Regions from separate parts of the Homo sapiens genome. Here all the other regions are linked to region 3. The links are contacts of gene promoters, found by promoter capture Hi-C in blood cells and fetal thymus (Javierre and others, 2016). All regions are on one chromosome and are shown on one strand. Each heading gives the region's core, a stretch centred on a gene start or on the middle of the fragment in contact. The rest is flanking DNA. Distances are from core to core; before and after follow the strand shown.

What was found. Contacts are between HindIII fragments. The CHiCAGO score rates a contact against its expected background, and 5 or more counts as called.
Region 1: a contact is called between a fragment that was not itself captured here and the fragment with the promoter of SUN3 in region 3, in 3 of 17 cell types (total CD8 T cells, activated CD4 T cells and non-activated CD4 T cells). The highest score is 6.3, in total CD8 T cells.
Region 2: a contact is called between a fragment that was not itself captured here and the fragment with the promoter of SUN3 in region 3, in 1 of 17 cell types (activated CD4 T cells). The highest score is 5.2, in activated CD4 T cells.
Region 4: a contact is called between a fragment that was not itself captured here and the fragment with the promoter of SUN3 in region 3, in 6 of 17 cell types (total CD8 T cells, total CD4 T cells, activated CD4 T cells and 3 more). The highest score is 8.2, in total CD8 T cells.

What each region holds. Positions count from the first base shown.
Region 1 is chr7:48,063,709-48,069,365 of GRCh38, reverse strand. No RefSeq gene overlaps it. Among named protein-coding and RNA genes, the nearest start is that of UPP1, 23 kb to the left of the region's middle. The HindIII fragment of the contact is 9,280 bases long and covers 1-5,657 here.
Region 2 is chr7:47,970,949-47,976,330 of GRCh38, reverse strand. It overlaps HUS1 (HUS1 checkpoint clamp component), which reads left to right. Exons shown (of 8, transcript NM_004507.4): 5 at 644-718. Among named protein-coding and RNA genes, the nearest start is that of HUS1, 6.0 kb to the left of the region's middle. The HindIII fragment of the contact is 1,348 bases long and covers 932-2,279 here.
Region 3 is chr7:48,025,648-48,031,750 of GRCh38, reverse strand. SUN3 (Sad1 and UNC84 domain containing 3) reads left to right here and starts at 2,644. Exons shown (of 10, transcript NM_001030019.2): 1 at 2,644-2,934; 2 at 5,813-5,874. The coding sequence starts at 2,813. RefSeq lists an enhancer at 2,254-3,453. The HindIII fragment of the contact is 1,156 bases long and covers 1,495-2,650 here.
Region 4 is chr7:48,081,274-48,087,000 of GRCh38, reverse strand. No RefSeq gene overlaps it. Among named protein-coding and RNA genes, the nearest start is that of UPP1, 5.1 kb to the left of the region's middle. The HindIII fragment of the contact is 4,999 bases long and covers 1-4,735 here.

The DNA of each region.
Region 1 (5,657 bases), core at 138-2,637, 39 kb before region 3:
GTGTATACAAAACTTGCATTATGTTGCATACCATAAATATATACGATTGTATTTGTCAATTAAAAAATTTATATTGCAGATTTCTGCATATTGATCATATATGCCAATAACATTGGTTTATCTTATAGTCTGAGTTAGTTTTGTTATTTATTTTTTAGGGTTTTCCAGATATACTGTGTTATAATTTTTAAAAGTTACTCGGGTTTTGTCTTTGGTTTTTGGCACACAACTCCTAAAACCTGTGGAATCTCCAGAGTGAAAAAGAGTGTCATTTATACGATAATGAGATGCCTTTTTTGGTTAGGAGCCCCTAGATTAGCTTCAGGATTAGGAAAAACCAAGATACAGTTAAAGGGTTAGAACTTCAGACTGTTCTTTCACCATGAATGGTTTTGACACCCTTGTTTAAAATCAACTGACTGTAGGCATATGATGTTATTTCTGGAAGCTCAGTTCTATGCCATTGGTGTATATGTCTCTCCTTATGCCAGTACCACTCTGCCTCCATTAGTATAGCATTAAGTGTGTAGATTGTTTGGAGGAGTGTTGCCATCTTAATATTAAGTCTTCCAATCCATGACCACAGATGTCTCTGGATTTACTCTGTATTCTTCAATTTCTTTTAATAATGTTTTGTAGTTTTTAGTGTACAAGTCTCCTCCTTATTTAAATTTATTTCTAAGTATTTTATTCTTTTTGATACTATTGAAAATGGAAATGTTTTCTTAATTTCCTTTTCAGATTATGCATTGTTGAAGTATAGAAATGCAACTGATTTTTGTGCATTGATTTTGTATGCTGCAACTTTGCTGAATTCATTTATTGGCCATAGGCCATATAATAGGGGTGTGTGTGTGTGTGTGTGTATTCTTTAGGATTTTCTGTATACTGCACTGTATAAGATCATTCCATCTGTCTCAGTTTGTTCCTGCTGCTATAACAAAATACCTTAAACTTCTTAATTAATAAACAACAGAAATTTATTGCTCACTATTCTGGAAGTTGGGAAGTCCAAGATCAAGGGGCCAGCAGATTCAGTGTCTGGTGGAAGAGTCACTGTCTGCTTCAAATATGGTGGCTTCTTTCTTCATCTTCAAATGGCAGTAGCGGCAAACAGGTTCTCTCAAGCCTCTTCTATAAGGGCACTAATCTCATTTATGAGGACTCTGCCCTCATGACCTAATGACTTCCTGAAGTCCCCACCTCTAAATACTATCTTAATTGGGAATTTGAAGTAGGGAGACACCAACACTCAAACTGTAGAACCATTTGGAAATAGAGATAATTCTACTTATTTCTGTATTTCCAGCTGGTATGCCTTTTTTTTTCCTTCCCTAATTGCAGTGCATTGTTGAAATAGAAGTGACAAAAGCAGGCTTTTTTTTTTTTTCTTTTTTTTTGAGATGCAATCTCGCTCTGTCCCCAGGCTGGAGTGCAGTGGCGCGATCTCATCTTACTGCAACCTCCACCTCCCGAGTTCAAGCAATTCTCCTGCCTCAGCCTCCCAAGTAGCTGGGACTACAGGCACCCAGCCACCACACCTGGCTAATTTTTTAATATTTTTAGTAGGGACGGGTTTCACCGTGTTGCCCAGGCTGGTTTCAAACTCCTGAGCTCAGGCAACCCACTTGCCTCAGCCTCCCAAAGTGCTAGGATTACAGGCATGAGTCATAGCACCCAGCCAAAAGCAGGCATTTTTATCTGGTTCTTGATCTTAGAGGGAAAGCCTTCAGCCTTTCATCATTGATTTTGATATTAGCTGCAGGTTTTTCATAACTGTCCTTTATCAGGGTAAGGAAGTGCCCTTCAATTCCTGGTGTGTTGAGTATTTAACATGATATTGGATATATTGTGGGTGTATGCTATACATACATTTCTGGATGAATTTAGATGATTATGGTTTTTTTTTCCTTTCATTCCCTCAATGTGATTGATTAATTTAGCCAGCCTTGCATTCTTAGGATACATCCCACTTGGTCATGACATTTAATTCTTTTAATATGCTAGTGGATTCAGTTTGACAGTATTTTGTTAAATATTTTTGCATCTATATTCATAAGGAATATTGGATAGTAATTTTCTTTTTTTGCAATGTCCTTTATCTGACTTTGGGATCAAAGTAATGCTGGCCTCATGAGTTAGGAAGTATTCCTTCCTTTACGATTTTTAGAAGAGCTGGAGAAAGATTGTTGTTCATAACTGGTAATTAGTGAAAACTACTTCCATTATTGGGAGGTTTTTGATTACTGGGTCAGTATCTTTAATTTTTATAGATCTGTTCATATTTTCTTATTTCTTCTTGAGTCACTTTTTGTAATATGAGTGTTCTAAGAATTTGTCCATTCATCTTGGTTATCTAATTCTATTGGAGTACAGTTGTTCATAGTGTTATAATCCTTTTTAATTTCTTTAATGTTGGTAGCAATGTCTTTACTTTTATTTCTTTTTTTGGTAATATGAGTTTTCTCTCTTTCTTTCTTCATCATTCTAGCTAACAGTTTGTCAGTTTTGTTAATCTGTTCACAGAACCAACTTTGGTTTCATTGAGTGTGTATTTTTTCCTATTCTCTGTTTTGTTGACTTCTGCTTTAATCTTGATCATTCCCTTCCTTCTGCTAACTTTGGGTTCAGTTTGTTCTTATTATAGTTCCTCAAAATGTAAAGATAGGTTACAGATTTGAGATCTTTATTCTTTTTTCATGTATTTGTTTACATTAAAAAAGTACAACATATAAAAACTTTAAAAAAACTTATGGGATGCAGTGATAGCAGTGGTCAGGAATTATAAATTTCTAAACTTATAATGAAAATTTCTAAATTGTCTAAATTTATAATTTCTGACCATTGCTTTCACTGCATCCCATAAGTGTTTTTTTGGTTTTTGTTTTTGTTTTCTGTTTTTTTGAGACGGAGTCTCATTCTGTCGCCCAGGTTGGAGTGCAGTGGTGCAATCTCGGCTCACTGCAACCTCCGCCTCCTGGGTTCAAGCGATTCTCTTGCCTCAGCCTCTGCAGTAGTTGGTATTACAGGCATGCACTGCCCTGCCCAGCTGATTTTTGTATTCTTAGTAGGGATTTTACCATGTTGGCCAGGCTCGCCTTGAACTCCTGATCTCAGGTGATCCACCCACTTCGGCTTCCCAAAGTGCTGGGATTAAGGCGTGAGCCACTGAGCCTGGCCTCCATAAGTTTTTATATACTGTGCTTTTGTTTCATTCATCTCAAACTATTTCCTAATTTCCCTGTGATGTCTTCTTTGACCAACTGGTCACTTACATATGTGTTGTTTAATTTCCACATATTTGTGAAATTTCCAGTTTTCCTGTTATTAATTTCTGGTTTCAGTCCATTGTGGCTGGAGAAGATACGCTGTATGATGTCCATCTTACTAGATTTCTTGAGGCTTATTTTGTTGCCTAATGTATGCTCTGTCTTAAAGAATGTTCCATGTACACATGAGAAGAATTTGCATTCTGCTGTCGTTGGGTGTAGTGCTCTGTATATATGTGTTAGGTCTAGTTCTCATAGGTCCTTACTAGGAGAATTTTTATTATATTTATTTTTAGAAATTTTGTAATTTAGGTTAGTACTTTCTCTTTCATCAAGGGCATTAAATATAAGTTGTGCAGGTTTTCAAAAATTTCCTGGTGGGAATTTTTTTAAGTTTATTGATTTTGTGATTAATTTCCAGGTTTATTGAGCTGTGGTCAGAGTAGTATTTGCACATTTCTACATTATTGTGTTCCAGTATAACAACTATTTATGTGAATATTCTGTGCATGCATTTGAAGGTATACATTCTATTATCGCATCTTAACTTTTGATATATATCCGTACGACCTATCATATTGATTACACTGCTTAGGCCTTCTATAACCTTTGTTATCTTTTTCTGGTTGATCTGAATTGCACTGAGAGTGATCTGTTAAAGTATCCTATTAGTAGTTGACTCCTTGCATTTCCTGTAGTTCCTGCCTCATAAAAGTGGTCTCTGTTATACTCGATACTTAGATATTCATAACTGTACTGTCTTTCCCATGACTTCTGGCTTTTAGTATTAAAAAGTTCTTTATTTGTCTCATGTAATGTTTATTGCTTGAATTTTACTTTGTATGACATAAATATTGCTACCTGTGTTTTCTATTATTTCTGTTTTCCTGGTATGCCTTTGCTCATCATTTCATTTTTAGCCTTTCTGAATCCTTTGTTTCAGATGTGTCTCATGTCTCCAGCATATGACATTTGTGTCTTGCTTTGTAAACCAAAATGAAAATCTTTTAACAGATGAGTTAAGCTCATTTGCATTTATTGATATGACTTACAGGTGTAGTCTTAATTCAGTCACATTATTGTAATTATTATGAGTATTATATTTACTATTTTTCTTTCTCTGTAATGTTTTGTTTTTATTTTTTTAACTTATGTCTTTCTTAGTGCCCTTATTTCTGTTTTCTTATTTAATTTTTTACTATCTGTTTTGTCAGTTTCTAATGGTATTCTTTGAGTACTGTGTATGACCTATCCACCAAAGGGTTTATTTTAGATTTATCTTTTCCTTTTCTAAAATTTTAGTTATGTTATTTCTAGTTTGTCAGAACATAGAACATTTATATATTACTCTTTCATGTTTTCCCCACTTTTATTTTAGTTTCAGGTCCACAATTAACTATATTAAGTGCTCATCAGTGGTCCTTTTGCTGAATTTTCTTCAGTGATTTTTAGCTGAGTCAGTCTCATCCTCTAGCTGGTGCTTCAGAAAAGGCTCATTCTTACAAGTTTGAAACTGTTCTTCTATAGCCTTGACACTTGAGGGACAGTTTGGCTTGGTTCATATATTCTTTCATTGAGTTTCTTGAAAATGCTATTTCAGTGTTGCCTTGCATATTGCTTTTGAGAAATCTTACGCCGGATAATTTTGTTTGACCTTGTAAGTTATTAGATCTTTAGAGAACTGGGGATATTTTATTTACAATAAAACCTTATAATTTTATTAGAATATGTCTTGACATTGTTACAAATAAGTTTTCCTGGTACATTGTGGATCTTTCCAATATGTAGATTCAAGTATTATTTCTGAAATATTTTCTTGAGTTACAGTTATAAATATTAGTTCTGTTCCATTGTATATAGCTTTTTCCTTCTTCAGAGAATCCAATTGTACATATGTTTAATCTTCTTTCATTGTCTTCCATTTCAACAAATTTCCCTCTAATCCTTTCCATTTCATCTCATTTTCACTCTCTTCGTTCTTTTCTTTCTTTTCTTCAATGACTCATATTACATTTTTATTGGAATCTGTTCTCCTTTGGGCATCTTATAGTCCTTATTTCTGATATAATTTTTCTTTTGATTCTTTTTCTTCTTGAAATTAAATAAACTCTCATTTTATTTGTTCTTTTTTTTACAGGATGGAATTAATTTCTGTTCTTAGTTTTTAAATTTCCAAGCCAGAGTGTATGTTTGTTGTTGTTGTGTATACATTTTAAAAATCTCTAAATGCTTGCTTGAGAATTGTTGTAATAGAGGTGTTTCACTGTTAACTTTTTGGAGAAAATTTTTATCAGCCAAAATATTTTTATTCTCAGTTTTTGCCTTTGTCTTATTGTTCTCTTAATAGATAAAGACTTCTAATATATTTTATTTTGTGAATAGAGTTGT
Region 2 (5,382 bases), core at 356-2,855, 54 kb after region 3:
GGGTAACGGTCATGCCGATGGTTAACCCTAGAGCTCCTGAAAGTAAAGATGATGCCAAAGGGCCCATTTCCTCTTGCTCACAATTTGTTTAAGAAGAAAGTACAGAAATATGCTGGGTAAAATAATTACTTGACTTTTACTAGATGGCACCTACACTGATTTTGAAAAAGCCTGTGTTTTATAGAGCACTCTTGGTAACAGTCTCAGATGTGATGCAGTGACTGTCTGCCATGTTTTTGTACAGAGCATGGAAAAGGCCCTTGAATCATAGGTGTAAATGTCCCTTAGAGGAGGGCCTCCTGCTGATTGCCTGAGTTATATTCCCCCTGGACCAATATAGGGGCATCTCAGCTGAAGTACCCTATTCCTTCTTGAGCCAAAAGAATGCCCACAGGGACATGGTTGCTGAGGTAACCAGAGGCAGGCATTCCATTCTTTAATTTTGCTTGAGCATCCTTGAGTTAGTGAAATAGAATTGGTTTTCTTTTTATATTTTTAAAAGAACTTTATTCAGAAAATTGTAAAATAGTATCCCATAGTTTTTGAGCATGCATGTGTTCTAGAGTTAGTTATGGGGCCCTTGTCATTACTAGAGTATATTAATATTTTTAATACTTGTGCTTTTTTCTCATTGGTTTTGTAGGTTAGTATTTATTTACCAGTCTTGAAGACTATGAAGAGTGTTGTGGAAAAAATGAAAAACATCAGCAATCACCTTGTAAGTCACAACTTCTTTAGAAAAGAACTCTGAAGTATTTGGTGGGACGGCGTGGGTTCTCCAGCTCACCCTGCAGCAGTCCATGCAGGTGGGCACCTCCTAACCGAGTTCCCACTTATGAGGACCTGGCCTGGTGCTGAGAACCTGCAGATTGCTAGTTGGATTTAGAAACCTATTCCAATACTTTTCAACTCTAATTCTTTGAGGAAAGCTTTTATATTTGCCTTTAATCTGCCTGTTTTTCCTCTTATATTTTGTATGAAACATTGTATCTTTCTTTTTTTTTTTTTTTTTTGAGACAGAGTCTCACTCTGTCGCCCAGGCTGGAGTGCAATGGCGCCATCTCACCTCACTGTAAGCTCCGCCTCCCGGGTTCATGCCATTCTCCCACCTCAGCCTCCCGAGTAGCTGGGACTACAGGCGCCTGCCACCATGCCTGGCTAATTTTTTGTTTCGTATTTTTAGTACAGACGGGGTTTCACCGTGTTAGCCAGGATGGTCTCGATCTCCTGACCTCGTGGTCCGCCCGCCTAGGCCTCCCAAAGTACTGGGATTACAGGCGTGAGCCACCGCGCCCGGCTGGAACATTGTATCTTTTACCTGCTAACGTGCCCGTATTTTTCTGTGAGTCACTGATATGACTGACAGTGAGTTTGGAGTTTCCTGTCTGCGTGCCAAGTGTCTTTCAGTGAGCCAGGGACAAAGATATGCCACACCATAGCAGCCTTTATTCCAAGCACACCTCACACCAAGCTAGGGGGCACTTTTATATTTCTGTTTATTTTCTGTTTATTTTGTGGAAGTCTCCTATGGCCACATGGCTCGAAATGTTACAGTGTGTGACAGTGGTGGGAAATGTGTAGGTTATCCTCATTCATACCTGGGGTTATTGTGAATTCTTCCTTCACTCACTGCCCCTCCCTCCTCCCCCTGCTCCCTCCTATCCTGCTCCAAAAAACACCCTTGGTTATGTCCCTGAATCTTCTAAAAACCACTGTCCACCTGATGAAGCATAAACTTTTGATCTTGACAGTGTACCAGGCCACCTTTATAGCCACATCTCTGTTGTATTGCCACACCCTCCCTGCAGAACGAGGCTGGGTTCTGGTATTCCCCCACAATGCCTCTTCTTTTTTGTTCAGTTTCTTTGCCATTTGACACATGGCTTCTTCTCTCCATCTCCCTGGAAGGCACTTAGCCATTCTCATGCTTCATCACAGACCTTTCCCCACCACCCCTCTGGAAGCTCCTCCATGGAGCTGAGCTGTCCAGTGTACATGGTAAATCACCTGCTAAGATCTCTGAAGGTCTCGTGAACCACCAGCTTCTTGATAAAGGAAACCCCATCTTAATCATCTTTGTGTCCCAGCTGCCCAGTGTGGGATTGCCACTCAGTAGGCAGCAATAAGTGTTGCATGGATCTGGAACAAAATTTAGCTTCAAGAGGTCTTTGAAATCACAAAAGTATTTTGAAGCCTAGAAAATGTACATTTGACTGTTTTTTTCTAGAGTTCTGCACACTAAGAGCAATGCTGTCATTGGACCTGGGTAACTCAAAGCTTTTCCTTCATAACTTAATCTATAAAATCTGTTTTCCATGAAGCAGTGTGCACTGTGCTGACGTTGGTGTCACCTGTGACTGCAGTGATGCTGATCCAGTTGTCAGGCTGGCTTCATCTGGGGATACCCTGGGGACTTCCAGAGAAATTCAGAGAGGCCCAGGAGAGAAAAGACAGGGCTGTTAATTGAAGGATGGCATTTGTTTGTTCTTTCTGTTCAATGAAAATGAGTCAGCAAGGTAGAGAGGTAGAAGGGTAGCTTAGAATCATCAGAGGTGTTTTGTTTTCTCTTTTTTGGAGTTTAAAAAAACATAGAAATATTGTGGAGAGGCTACTACGATCTGGAATTACTAAATGGAAAGTTATCAAGTTACTGTAGCAAAGTACATAATGAGGTCTTCCTGGGTATCCAGAATTCTGTATCTGAATATTACAGGCAGTAGAATTAAGGAAAATGGGTAGACTTAACACACTAAAAATGCCCACCTTCCCATTAGAGATGCCCAGTTACTTCCTTTCATTAAATGCGAGGTGTGACTGATGGGGTGGGTTGTATGTGACTCATGCAGGAGCAGAAAAAGAAGCAAGAACTGGAGGGAATTGACATCATGTTCTAAGACATTGCTTCTAAGTTCTACCATGCGTGTGAATCCCCTGGAATCTGGTTAAAGTGCAGGTTCTGATTTGGGAGGTCTGAGCTGGAGCCTGAGGCTCTGTTTCTGACCAGCTCCTGGGAGATGTCGATGCTGCCTGTCTTCAGACCACATCATGTAGCAGTACTTTGTGATGTGTGCCTGTATTACTCCGTTTTCACGCTGCTAAAAAGATATTACCTGAGACCAGGTAATTTATAAACAAAAGAGGTTTAATTGACTCACAGTCCTGTATAGCTGAGGAGGCCTCAGGAAACTTACAGTCATGACAGAAGGCAAAGGGGAAGCAAGGCACGTCTTAACATGGCAGCTGGAGAGAGAAGAACACAGGAAAAACTGCCATTTTTAAAACCATCAGATCTCATGAGAACTCCCTCACTATCAAGAGAACAGCATGGGAAAAGCTGCCCCCATGATCCAGTCACCTACCACCAGGCCCCTTCTCAGCACTTGGGGATTACAATTCGAGATGAGATTTGGGTGGGGTTGCTGAGCCAAAACAAACCACATCATTGCCATACTATATTGTACTTCAAATGTTATCTGAGAAACGGCTCTGCAGGGTCACCTAATGATAGAAACCAGAGTCTATGTTTAGGAGTCATGATATGGAAGAGGGGAGTCATTGGAGCCACATACCTGGGTTCAGCTCCAGGCTGCGCTGTGCAGTGAGTACCCTAGTGCTGGATACTACCCCAAATGGGGATAACAGTGCAGCTATGACAGGGGCTTCGTCAGTTTTTAAAAATTTAGAGATAATTTTTACTAGGTGCCCAGTATAGTCAGCATTCTATAAACAATAGTTGACTATTTTAAGGAAATCATTGAAAGATCTTACCCTGATACTTAAGAAATCAAGTGTGTTGTTGTGTATAATATCCCAAATAACTGAATCTTAAAATAGACATGAGTGACCAGTGTTCAGAGAATTAGTTGTTTGTTAGTTTCTTCAGTAAGTATTGACTTAAGGCCACCATGTGCTAGGCACCAGGTGTTAATGGTTAGGAGGGAGTTGGAATCTAATGTTCTGTTACTGAGATTCTTAGGAATTTGAAGAAAACACAAGAGAACATTTAAGCCTGAAGTGCATCTAGGCCCATTGCAAGTTGCATTTTTAAATAAGTATTTATTTATTTATATCTAAAACCATTGCTTTTCAAAACAATGGGAATTTACAGATCTTGGGTGTGTGGTTGTTTGGAACAAATGAGCTAAGGTCATGTGTTAGCCTTAGCCCCACTAAGCAGTCTAGCATATTCACAAAGATTGTTTTATATATTTTATTTCAGTCAACTATTGTTCCAGATTGTAGGAAAACGGGTTAGGAAATATAACAATATATTTTTTTGGATTAATGAAAGAAAAGGGTTGAAAATGAGTATTTCTCATTCAAAGTAGATTATACAACAGGTAAGTTTGGGGCACTATTTTTCTATTAATGTGAAAAGCTCAGAAATAAGAGCTCACCCAAATTAGAAAAACTTTGTTTCTGGAATGAAAACTATTCAGAGTTCACCAATTTTAAGGAATAAGAACAAGGAACACTAAATTGTATTCAGTAAACATGAACACTGATACAGAGCCGTGCAGACAGAGTGCCTTCTCTGTTTTCTTTCTGTGACACTGTGAGGATGGAATGGCCCTAAATAAGACCAGTTGCTAGGTGGCACTTTTCTAGTACTAGATGGCAAAATGCTATCCAGCAGACTACACACTGGCTTTCCAGAGACCTCCTAGGCTTTAACATTGGGCAGATATCAACATCAAAAAGAGAAATAACAGGTACTGGTTCTTTTAGGAGGAAATTTCATTGTAGGTGCGGGAGTGGACCAGGATAGGTTAGCAAAACCTCAAACCATACTGTGGCATATGCTTCACTTCTAGGTTCCATCCAATTAAAAGAACTGATTGGTTGTTGGGGTGGGTAGAGGAGCTTCAAAGGAAAGGAGTCCCTTGTGACCTGTGGAGACAGTCCCCGGGCAGCAAGAGCAGGAGTAGAAGAGGGGTGCCCGATGGTATATGAGGGGATGGCAGAAGTCTGGTAGCCTGGGCGTGTGGAGTTTGGCTCAGCCATCCTCAGTCCTGGTAACCCAACAGCAGCCCCAGACCCTTCTGGATTTGGACATTTCATTTTCCAACATGTGAGTTTATTTTCTAAATAAATGGCTATGTTCTCATGAGATTCTGAAGGCCTTATAGTCATATTAAATGTGTGTTTATGACAAATGGTTGATTTATATTTTATAAAAATAAGACACTGATTTCCACATTCTTCTCATTTTCCCCCTTCCTGTTTTGTAATGGTTATATTATGTCTACATCATCAGAGCATAAAATTTTATTACTACACGTTATTCTGTCCTCTTCATTCCTGTTGTTTAGTTTTGGTTCTAAAGGTCAAAATAAGGCTCACACTGTTTATGCTGTAACTTCTCCAATGATTTTTTTGGTT
Region 3 (6,103 bases), core at 1,395-3,894:
GGAAGTGCAAATATCTCTTCAACACACTGATTTTATTTCCTTTGGATATATATACCCAGAAGTGGGATTGCTGAATCATAAGGTAGTTCTATTTTTAATTTTTTAAGGCACTTCCATACTGTTTTTCATAATGAGTATACCAATTTACATCCCACCAACAGTATACAAGGGTTACATTTTCTCTGCATTCTTGCCTACACTTATCTTTATATATTTTTGTTTGTTTGTTTTAAGATTAACAATTTCTTTAAAATATGGGGTCTGGCTATGTTGCCCAGGCTGGTCTCAAACTCCTGGGCTCAAGCAGTCCTCCTGCCTCAGCATCCCGAGTAGCTGGGATTACAGGCGTGTACCACTTTGTGCAACACTAGCTGTTTATCTTTTTTATAATAGCCATCCTAACAGCTGTGAGGTGATATCTCATTGTTGTTTTGATTTACATTTCCCTGATGATTAATGATGTTGAGTAGCTTTTCACATGCCTGTTGGCAATGTGTATGTCTTCTCTGGAAAAAAATGTCTATTTAGGACCTTTGCCAACTTTTAAATTCAGTTATTTGTTTTCTTGTTATTAAGTTCCTTTGCTGTGCAAAAGCTTTTTGGTTTTTGGTTTGATGTGGTTCCACTTATTTATTTTTGCATGTGCTTTTGATGTCATATTTAAAAAGTCATTGTCAAGACCAATGTCAGGGAGATTTTTTCCTTGTTTTCTTCTAGGAATTTTATGGTTAGAGGTCTTATGTTTAAGTCTTTTATCTATTTCAAGGTATTATTTGGGTATGGTGTAAGATAACTGTCCAATTTAATTCTTTTGCATGTGAATATCTACTTTTCCCAGCACCATTCATTGAAGAGACTACAGTGTCCTTTCCTTATTGTGTACACCTGACAAACTTATCAATGATTAGTTGGCTGTATATGTGCGGATTTATTCTTGAAAAATACACATAGACTTTGACCCAGAAGTTCCTCCTCTGGGTATATATCCTTAAAGATATATTCACACATATGGATAATAACTTAAATACAAGATTACTATTGCACATTATTTTAAATACCAAACTGCCCATCAATATGAGACAGGCTAAATAGCCTATGGCCCATTCACCCAATGAAACACTATTCAGTCATAAATAAATGAGGAAGATTATCTCAAACAATCAAAACAACTTCCAAGATACATGTTTAAGGGAAAGAAGCAAGATGCAGAGCACAGTTTATAGTAAGCTACCATTAGGAATGTGGAGAGATAAATATACCTATAAAATATTACATATATAATACAATGTCACATACTGTGCATGTGTATCACATCTTTGAAAGGAAATACTATAAATGGTAGCATAGATGCTAAAAGAGAGGGGAACCAATAGCTAGAAGGCAGATGCCGGGTGGAAAGGCCATATTTGCTGTGTACCATTTTGTAACTTTCGAATTTTGGACTAGTAGGTAAAAAAGTAGAAACTTGGGGGTTTCTTGGTATAAATCTAAGCTTTCAGAAAATAAGTAGTAAATTGAAAAATAACACTTACAAATTCACCCAGAAATCAGCATAAGTAAAAAGAGAAAAAAGCAAAAACAAATATGAAGGAGCAGTTGAACGGAAAGCAAAAGGGAGACACAAGTGTCAATAGGTGGACCATTCTAAGAAAATTGAGGCAGTGGCAGAGAAGCAATATTTGAAGCCCTGATGGCTGAAAAATAGTCCAGAACTGAAAAAACACACAAGTACCCAAATTGAAAAGACTCTCTGAGTTATAAGTGAGGAAAAACAAAAACTAGTATCAAACCTGGATACACTAAAATACAACTGGAAAATATGGATAAACAGAAAATCTTAAAAACTACGCGAGAAATTGCCAAAAAAAACAGAGAAATGAAGATAAGACAGAATTCTCATCAACAACAATCAATCCACAAGGCCATGGAGTAGTATCTCCAAAGTGCTGAGAGTGAAATGACTGTCATCGTAGAATTTATGCCCCAAATAAACCAGCTCATCCTTCCACCTAACTATTCTGTTTCTAGGTGTATGTTTAGAAAAACCTTGTGATGTGCATATAACAACGTGCAATGAGCATTATTCCTTGCCAAAAAAACTGAAAACAACCTAAGCATACATTTACAGAAGGATGGGTAAATGAATTGTGATGTATGTATAATGAAATACCATAGAGCAATTAAAATGAGTGGAGTTAATGTCTCAAGATAAATAATATTGTAAGAAAACCTAGAGTGGCATAACATTTAGTTTATGTTTTAAGCATGAAAATGGTATTATTTATAGATACAGATTTACATAGTAAAGTATCAAAAATAATGAGAATAGAGTATATCAATTTTCAGGTTGTAGTTATCTGTGGAAAATAAGAGTGCTGAGATTCAGGGATACTTGGGGGTCTACTATTATATTTCTGATATTTTCTTTATTAGAAAAGCACTGAAGCAAACACAGCAAAACATCCAGATTTGCTATCGAAAAGCGGTAGGTACATGGGGGGGCCTTTGTATTATTCAGTGGGTGTGACATATGGTACAATTAGGCCCTTGAAGCAGAGAGGTGGTTGCCTGTCCATGCCCTGGCTGGGCGTGGTGGCCATCTGCATTATGAGGTGTCACGGAGGATGATGCAACAGAAGAATCAGAAGCTTTTCAAAATTCCGTCTTCAAGAAGAAACACCCGTGGAGGAAGAAGACATTATACAAAACAAATTTAGAAACTGTATGTATAGCTTCATGTTTTTCATAAAATAGGAATGAGGACAAATGTTGCTCTTCATCCTACCAGCTGTTTGTTCTTTGGTAGGGGATCATGAGTGGAAAAACAAAGGCAAGAAGGGCTGCCATGTTTTTTAGACGTTGCTCTGAAGACGCCAGCGGTAGCGCCAGTGGCAATGCTTTGTTATCAGAGGACGAAAATCCTGATGCGAATGGGTAGGTAAACATGGCAGAACGGTGTGCCTGAAATTGTAGGTTTTATGTGTTACATCTGTCACTTGTGTCTGTTCATCTGTTACCTGTTACCCGACAGTATTTTCTCCCTTTATAGAGAAAATCATTTTCAATAGTTTCCTTTGAAGGTTTCTCTTCATCACAGTCTTACACTTGATCACAATACTTCTATGTCAACGGTATCTGGATTAATAACAGCAGACTTGGGAGAAGGATTAAGAAAGGAGAGCCACCCTCTTTAAAAGAATGAGCCACAGCAGCAGGAACTTAAAAGCTTCCAGATAATTCACTTTTTTTTTTTTTTTTTTTTTTTTTTTTTGTCATTGGGCTAGCTTGTATAGTCTTGGTGGTATGCAGAGCTTAGCACCGGGCTCAGGACTCTGGGCACAGAGTGGCATTTATTACATTCTTGGGTGATAATTGACTAAAGACTCTGGTAGGGGATGCACATTTTGAGTGAATCACCCTGTTTCCTCTAGTGAGAACATATGTGGGGATTATTATAGCAGGGAATCCAAATACCCTAAACCTATTTACAAACGCCCTGCCCATGTGCTGCCTGCTGGGAAAACAAAAACTACAAGTAATGAAATAACCTTCCTATTGGTAACAATGAAGCACTTGCACAGAACAAAACTGTCAATAAAAATAAAAGGAATGCTACAAAGTTATTAGTACAAGTAGAGCAGCATTTCAAAATCACAGTAATAACAAAATATGCTTGCCCCAAATGGCAGAATCCCACTGGCTGGGTGAAGGCACCGAAGGAATTTTGCAATGCAGAGCCTGGCAGCCAGTTTTCTAGTGAAAAACAAAAAACGAAAAACACTGGAGTTAATCTTTGGTAAATATGGTAATGTGATAATTTTCACTTAATGCAGCCCACCAAAAGAGCTCTTGTAGACCATAACTGACCTATGAACAACTTTTTTAATACAGTGGACCCCCTACCACTCTCCACATCTCCAATAATAGTTAAAAGGAAGAGGTTCCAGAATACACTTCCCTGGAGGGGAAGAGAGTTAAGAAAATTCTCTTCTTAGTTGGTTTCCACACTGTCACACTCTTGGATGGCTAATAGGTATGACTGCTTTATGTAGGGTAGATAAGCTACTTAAAGATTCTGTACTGGGAGAATTAGGCGGCCCACTCTAGTGAATACAGTTAATGAATGGTCCATCTTAATGTGATTTTTCTTATGTTTTAAGTAGAAATTTTTAGTTTGCCAACTTGTAATACTTTATCCGGAAGTTTATAGCCTTCACGTTAGATTAATGTGATCATTTTAGCTTCCCTCCCCATCCACCCTTTAGGGCTTTTTAAAAGGTTAGATGTGAAAAGGTTGTCATTACAACCACTTTGTAACACTGAGCAAAATCTACTGCAACGGATTATGCATGTATCCTATGACCCATCAATGTCTCTCTTGAAAATACACTTAAATGAAATACATACTTGTCTTCATCAGAAACCATGTACAAGAATGTTCATAGCTGCATTGCTTGTAGTAATATTTATAACTGCATTGTTTATCATAGCCCCAAACACCCATCAATGTTAGGATGGATACCCACATGATATATTCACACAATGAAATACTACACAGTTATAAGAATGAATGAACCACAACTATACACAACAGCACAGTTGACTCTCACAGACTTAAGACTGGGAACAGGAGGCAGACAGATAGAGCCCATACCCACATGGGTCCATTTATAGATGGTTCAAACCCAGACAAACCTACTTAATGGGGATAGAGCTCAGGAGAGCAGGTACCTTTGGAGGTGGGAGGTATAGGGTTGATAAGGGCATAAGATGGGCTTCTGATGGGCTTGGTATATTCATCTGCTCGGGCTGCAATAATAAATACCACAGACTGGGTGGCTGAAACAACAGAAATTTACTTTTTTTAACAGTTTTGGAGGCTGGGAAGTCCAAGGTTCCAGCTGATTTGGTCTCTAGCGAGGGCTCTCTTCCTGGATTGCCTTCTCACTGTGTCCCCATGTGACCTTTCTTCTGACTGCACAAAGAGAGAAAAAGTTCTGGTCTCTCTTCCACCTCTTCTAAGGACAACAATCCTGCTAGTTTAGAGTCCCACTCATAACCTCTTTTACCCTTAATTAGCAATTAAAGACCCTATCTCTAAATACAGTAACAATGATGGTAGGGCTTCAACAAATGAATGTGTGTGTGTGTGTGTGTGTGTGTGTGTGTTGGGGGGTGGGGTGCAATTCAGTCCACAGAACTGAGTATGCTCAATTTCCAGTCCTGGGTGAGGTTTCATGGATGTGTTCATTCTGTGAGGCATCACTGGTCTGTACAATTATACAGAAAAGAGCACAAATCGTATTTGTATAGCATACTGTACTTCAACACAGAGTAGGAAAAAAGGTCATGGTGGCTTTAAAGAATTTTATCAGATATTTCTTAACTGTCATAGTTCTTTAGCTTAGTACAAAATTTCCATAAAATCAGAACCTGATTTTTCTTTTTTTTCTTTTTTTGTAGCTAGTTCTACATTTGAGACCTCCAGAAAACTGCCTTTGTTTTTTTCTTATAAGTATTTTAAGAATATAAATAGACATATACTAGCATAAGCATTGCATATGTGAAAGTAAGAGGCATGACTCTATGTATGCGCACTCATATATGCTGGTGAGTGTGTATCATCACTAAAACGATCTTCTCTCAATTTAAAAAATAGTGGATTGGAAATTAAAGTAATTCATAGACTCAACCTAGATTAAGCAAGAATGAAAATAAGTAAGTTTGTTGACGTGAGTGTAGTGGCTAAAGTCCAAGTTAAATGCATGATGTTGTTAAATTCTTTTTCTAATCATTGTTTTTATTCTTTTAGGGTAACTCGATCATGGAAGATTATTCTAAGTACAATGCTTACACTGACTTTTCTTCTTGTAGGTAAGTCTTCCTAAGTAATGATCCTTAAAACCATTCCACAGGTTATGTCTGCCTGGTGAGAGAGATCTCAACGGAATGACTCATATTTGTAAATAAATGCCACGGAAAGTGCTGGAGGTGACCTGCACATTCTCAAAGCTTTTTCGTTTGTTTTTTATTTCTGATTGTAAGAGTAATACTGGCTTTTTAATAGAAAATTTAGAAAGGAGATTTTTCTTTTAGAATTGTG
Region 4 (5,727 bases), core at 987-3,486, 56 kb before region 3:
GAAGACCAGAGGTAGTTTTCCTCACCTTGCTGGTTTTTGGCAGGTTTTGGCCAGTTTTGGCTGGCTTCTTTACTGCATCCTGTTTCATCAGCAAGGTCTTTGTAACCTGTATCTTGTGATACCACCTGCCAACCTTCTATTTCATCCTGTGACTAAGGATGCCTAACCTCCTGGGAATGCACTCCAGCAGATCTCAGCCTCATTTTACCCAGCTCCTATTCAAGATGAAGAGTCTCTGAGTCGACTCCTGCTGACATATTTCCTGACTCTACAACCCTTAGGATTAAGGGTTCCCTTGTAAAAGGGAAGGGGGAATAACCAAATAACTCACCCCTTTCTTGGAAAACTCAGGAATAATCCACCCCTTGCTTAGCACATATTCAAGAGTAATCATAAAAAATACCCACCAGCAGCCCTTGGGGATGCTCTGCCTATGGAGTAGCCACTCTTTTATTCCCTTCCTTTCTTAATAAACTTCCTTTTACTGTTCTCTGTGGACTCACCCCAAATTCTTTCTTGTAGGAGATCCAAGAACTTTCTCTAGGGCTCAGGATCAGGACGCCTTTCCAGTAAGTTTGGTGACCTGAAACGTTAGCATGGGTGACTTTATTTTTATTTTTAGTCTTGTCTTTTGGGGCCTAGTGCAAGAGCTTAGTCTAAAACAATGGCCTCCTATAATTTGTGTTTAACATTTGTCAGGTTAAAACCTTGTCAGTGTGACAAACTGGAAACAAAATTGTGTCGGGCCACTACTAAACCACACCCAAAATACCTGTGTCATCAATGTTTGCAAGCAGAGAGCAAATGCAGCCCACCAATGGCCACCTAGAGCAGCAGCTGCTAGAGGCAGGAAAGTCTGGAAGAGACCCAGGGCTTGCAGGCTCAGCCAGGATCCCCCTGCTCCTCAACAAGGTCTTTGGGCTCTTTCAGAGATGCAGTTGGCCCTGAGCTCTGAGAGGTGGGGAGGGAAGGGGCTGAGAGGCTGAAGGCCAGGCCACACCAGATAGTGACACACCACTGCCCTTCAGGTTTCCCAAATCTAAGTAACTTCAAACTCTTTGAAATTCTCCCAAAGCTAATGTGTCTACCTAAAAGAAAGATGAGACAAAATTAACATAGAGAGTTTATTTGTGCCCAGGTTGAGGACTGTAGCCCAGGACACACTTCTAAGTTGCCATGGGGAGTGCTCCAAGAACAAAAAGGAGGCTCAAGTTTTTAAAGAAAAAAGAACAACTCAGGAGATGGGGCGATTGCAGAGTTGTCAGGAATCCTCATTGGTTTACAGAAATAACATTGGTTAGTGATTGCCCACACAGTGTTGAACTATAGGGTGGATGGCATCTTATGGCTAATTGGCCTCAGTTATTCTACAGCCACATAGCAAGTGGCTTCAAGAGGTAACCACTTAGCTGAAGGGGAAGTGAGCCATGACTGCTGTTCTGTTCTAAATGTTCTCTGGGCCTGATAATTTAAAGGCTCACCTTCCTCAGGAAAAGAAATGTGTTTGTTGTTTGTTTGTTTGTTTTCTTTCTCAGATAATATTTTAGAGATAGTAGCTGAGGCTTCTTCTCTGTTTGTCCTCACTTCCCAATTCCTCATGCAATTGCTCTTTTCTTTCCAATCCAGCAGCCATACAGATTTCTAGAACACCCCTCAGAGAGGGCAGAAATTGAGCCGCAGTGTTTTCTAAACAGCTGCCTGGTCCATTCGTGGGTCATGAAACCCATGTGGTGGGTCACAGCTAGCATTTTCATTGTCAGTGAGACAGAATGGAGTGAAAAAGCCTCTGCCTGCTTTCCACACCAGAGCACGTACTTTTATCACACGAACTATGACTCAGACACCACAAACCCAGACCAGGCCTCCAGGTCAGAAGTTGACTCCCCTGAGGCCTGTGGTGAGACTACAGCATGACTCAGACCCCTGAGATTTCAAATTCTTGCCAAAATACAAAAAGTGAGATTCTTCCCGCCAACTCTCACTCATCATATAGAGCTACTCAGTCCCCTGACCCACCCCCAGCTCAGATAGGCTCACAGTGGCAGGCCCACTCCCCTGGCAGCTGAGTCCAGTCTGATGAGCCATCACTTTCCCAGGTTGCTGGTCCTAGTAGTCAACAAAGAGAGTCAAACTCTGTAAAATATTTGAAGAGATTTATCCTAAGCCAAATGTGAATGACCATGGCCCGTGACACAGCAAACGGCCCTCAGGAGGTTCTGAGGACACGTGCCCAAGGCGGTCAGGGTGCAGCTTGGTTTTATATGTTTTAGGAATGCATGAGACAGCAATCAAATACATTTAAGAAATACATTGGTTTGGTCCAGAAAGGCAGGACAACTCAAAGCGGGGTAGGGGGCAGGGTTCAAGGCTATAGGTAAATTTAGACATTTTCTGGTTTACAATTGGTTGAGTTTGTCTAAAGACCTGGATTGATAGAAAGGAAATGTCCAGGTTAAGATAAAAGATTGTGGAGACCCAGGGTATTTGAAGTCTTATAGTGGCTGCCCTTAGAGACAATAGATGACAAATGTTTCCTATTCAGATCTTTAATAAAAGGTGCTAGACACTTAGTTAATCTCTTTTTTTTTTTTTTTTTTTTGAGATGGAGTCTCACACTCTCACCCAGGCTGGAGTGCAGTGGCGCGATCTCGGCTCACTGAAAGCTCCGCCTCCCAGGTTCATGCCATTCTCCTGCCTCAGCCTCCCGAGTAGCTGGGACTACAGGCGCCCGCCACCACACCCAGCTAATTTTTGTATTTTCAGTAGGGACAGGGTTTCACCATGTTAGCCAGGATGGTCTCGATCTCCTGACCTTGTGATCCACCTGCCTCGGCCTCCCAAAGTGCTGGGATTGCAGGCGTGAGCCACCGTGCCCGGCCAGTTAATCTCTTTAAAATTGGGAGAGCCTGGAAGAAAAAGCTCTAGCTATGTTAATAGAGATTTTTTACAGATGCAAATTTCCCCCACAAAGGACAGCTTTGCAGGGCCATTTCAAGATATGGCAAAGAAACATGTTTTGGGATAAAATATTTTTATTTTCTTCCCTGTCTCGTAATGTTATGCCAGAGTCAGGTTGGAAAGTAAGTCACGATATATAGGGTTAAATAAAACCCATCTCATGAGAATTCATTGTTTATAGGGCATGACTCCCCAGACCCCTTAGATAAGAATTGGCAAGATAAAAAAAAACGTCAGAGCTTAGTCCTCACAGTCAATGGCTAGCCTCCAAGGAAGTGGAGGATTCCCACAGGATTCCAGCTGCCCAGAGGCTTCACAGGCATATCCATGTTTACAGAAAAGATACAGGCCATGAGATATTTATACAAAACACTTAGGAGTCACAGCCAGCTACCCAACGGATGCCAATGGCTGACTGGTTCTTGCCCTCTCAGTCTTCACCTTTAGGAGAGGTGGTGCTGGCAGGATGTGGTATTTCTCATTCAGGGCCTCTGGAACCATCTAATCTAGGAAACACCCTTGTCTCATGCCTTGCTGCCACACAGCTCCATTTGCTCTCCAGTTTTCCAAGAAGCCTTCTACCTGACTGGTTTTGCTCTAAACCACTATCTCAGACTGAAATTCTTCACAAATTCCACCCAGGAATAATAAGGGTTCATTTCTGAACTGGACTCAGCATGCCATATGACCCATGGAGATATTTTCCTCATGAGATTTGACACAGGGGTCATTGGCCATGCCGCACCCTAGCTGATGACTGGGCAAGTTACCAAAAACCATCTGAGCCAGCCTCCTCGTCTACGCAGGGGAATAATATGGTTCTGCAGGATGGTTGAGGTCAGGGAAAAATGTATTCAAATTAGCAAATTCTTGCCAAAATACAAAAAGCGAGATTCTTCCCACCAACTCTCACTCATCATATAGAACTACTCAGTGCCCCATGTATACAAATGTAACAAGCCTGCATGTTGTGCACATGTACCCTAAAACTTAAAGTATCATAGTAATAAAATTTAAAAAAAAAGAAGGCTTTTCTGGTTCATTGTTCTGTTTGTTATTCTGCTGCTTATGTTTAGAAAACACGCAGAGAGCTAGGATGAGGCATTCTTGGAGCCACCTCGTTAGAAAAATGAAGTCTGCTGCCTTGCTTTCACAATGGCTGGTAAGAGTATAGTTTTAATCTATCATTGTTTCCTTATGCTTGCTATCTCACATGCCAGGTAAAGCTATTTGCTCCCTCGTCTCACTCTATCCCATTTGTACCCCTAGGTAGGAGAATGTGGTCTGGAAAATGAGGTGTCACTGGTGATCAGACATCATCACTTTTCTAGTGACTGTCAGCTTAGTTTTGTCCTACAGTTGTCTTGATTTCCAGCTAGGTAATGAGTGTGACATATCTTTAAGGTTTGGGTGTGCCAATGTACTGGAGACAGAAAATTGACTCACTAATTAAACCATAGCCTGAAACTTGCATGTTCAATACAGGCCTGCAATTTCCTTTACCTAGGCTTGGTCTCAGGTATTCTTCATAGTAAAGGTGATATTGCTATTGTATCACTATGACTCATGGTGTTAGGACACCAAATTCCTCATTACATCTTTATTTTAAACTTCTAAACTAGTATAGCTCCTAGGATTAAAAGGATTGCAGATTTTTAATTTTTTTAAAAAAGAGGCAGTATTTAGGTGTACCTGGTAGGGGAGAGAACAAGCATAAGGAAAAATGAATAAATTGGGGCTGTACTGTTACCAGCCATTTTGAAGACAAGGTAAAGCTTTTTCATTTTTCTGATGAGGCAGCTCTGGGAATGCATTATCTTGGTTCCCTGCATGTTTTCTGGGCATGGGAAGCAGCATAACAAACAGAACAAAGGAGTAGAAAGCTTTCTATTTCTTACCCCATGCAATTGTTTGATTTTGAGATTTGAGCTAGGTATTTCAAGGACTGCCATTAACCAGCTATGTAACCTGGTGTTAACTGTTAAGTTTTACTCACTTCAAATTTGCTTTTGTTTCTCCAAAACGTTTTGCGCATTTATAAGATAAATAAAAATCAGCATTTTTAGAAGGCAGCTATGATCACCACTCTACCACCAATGCCACGAAAATCTGTATTCTTGATTACCTGCTGGAAATAAAAATGTAATTGCTAAAATACTCAGTATAAGTTAAGTGATACAAGTAAAGATCTATCATGTGTTAAGTTTCAAGTTTCACTTAATGTTCTTAATAAAATAATGGTAGTTTGAATTCTCTACAAATATGTTCAGCCTATAATATTCTAAATTTACAGATGCTTGAGAACACATAATATTTTTGATTAACTGAATGTCAAACTATTATCCTACCTTGTAAATAGCATAGAAATTTTAACTATAGTCTTTAAAAAGTCAAATTTCATTGGTAGGGAAGTGTAAATGTATGATTTTTTTAAAACACAACATTAAAAGGTTGAGGTTATAACTTTCATAAAGATGAAATCACTATTTAAAAGCTGCACATACACTGATTATTATTGTTTGTCTTAGAAGATGTATCTTTAAATTGCTGGAAGACATCATGAATATTTTCATTGCTAATTATTGGTAAAGTCTTTAGTATATGTCAGTTCTGTTTGTGTGGGTATGGTTGCTGTAGTGCGGCTTAACAAAAACAATGCTTCATATCAGTGAAAGCTCTTCTTTGGTTTAATTTGGGTTGTGGTTATATTGTTTTTTCACATCACGTGAGCTGATTGCAAGGGGTTAACCCAAAATGAGCCACTTCACT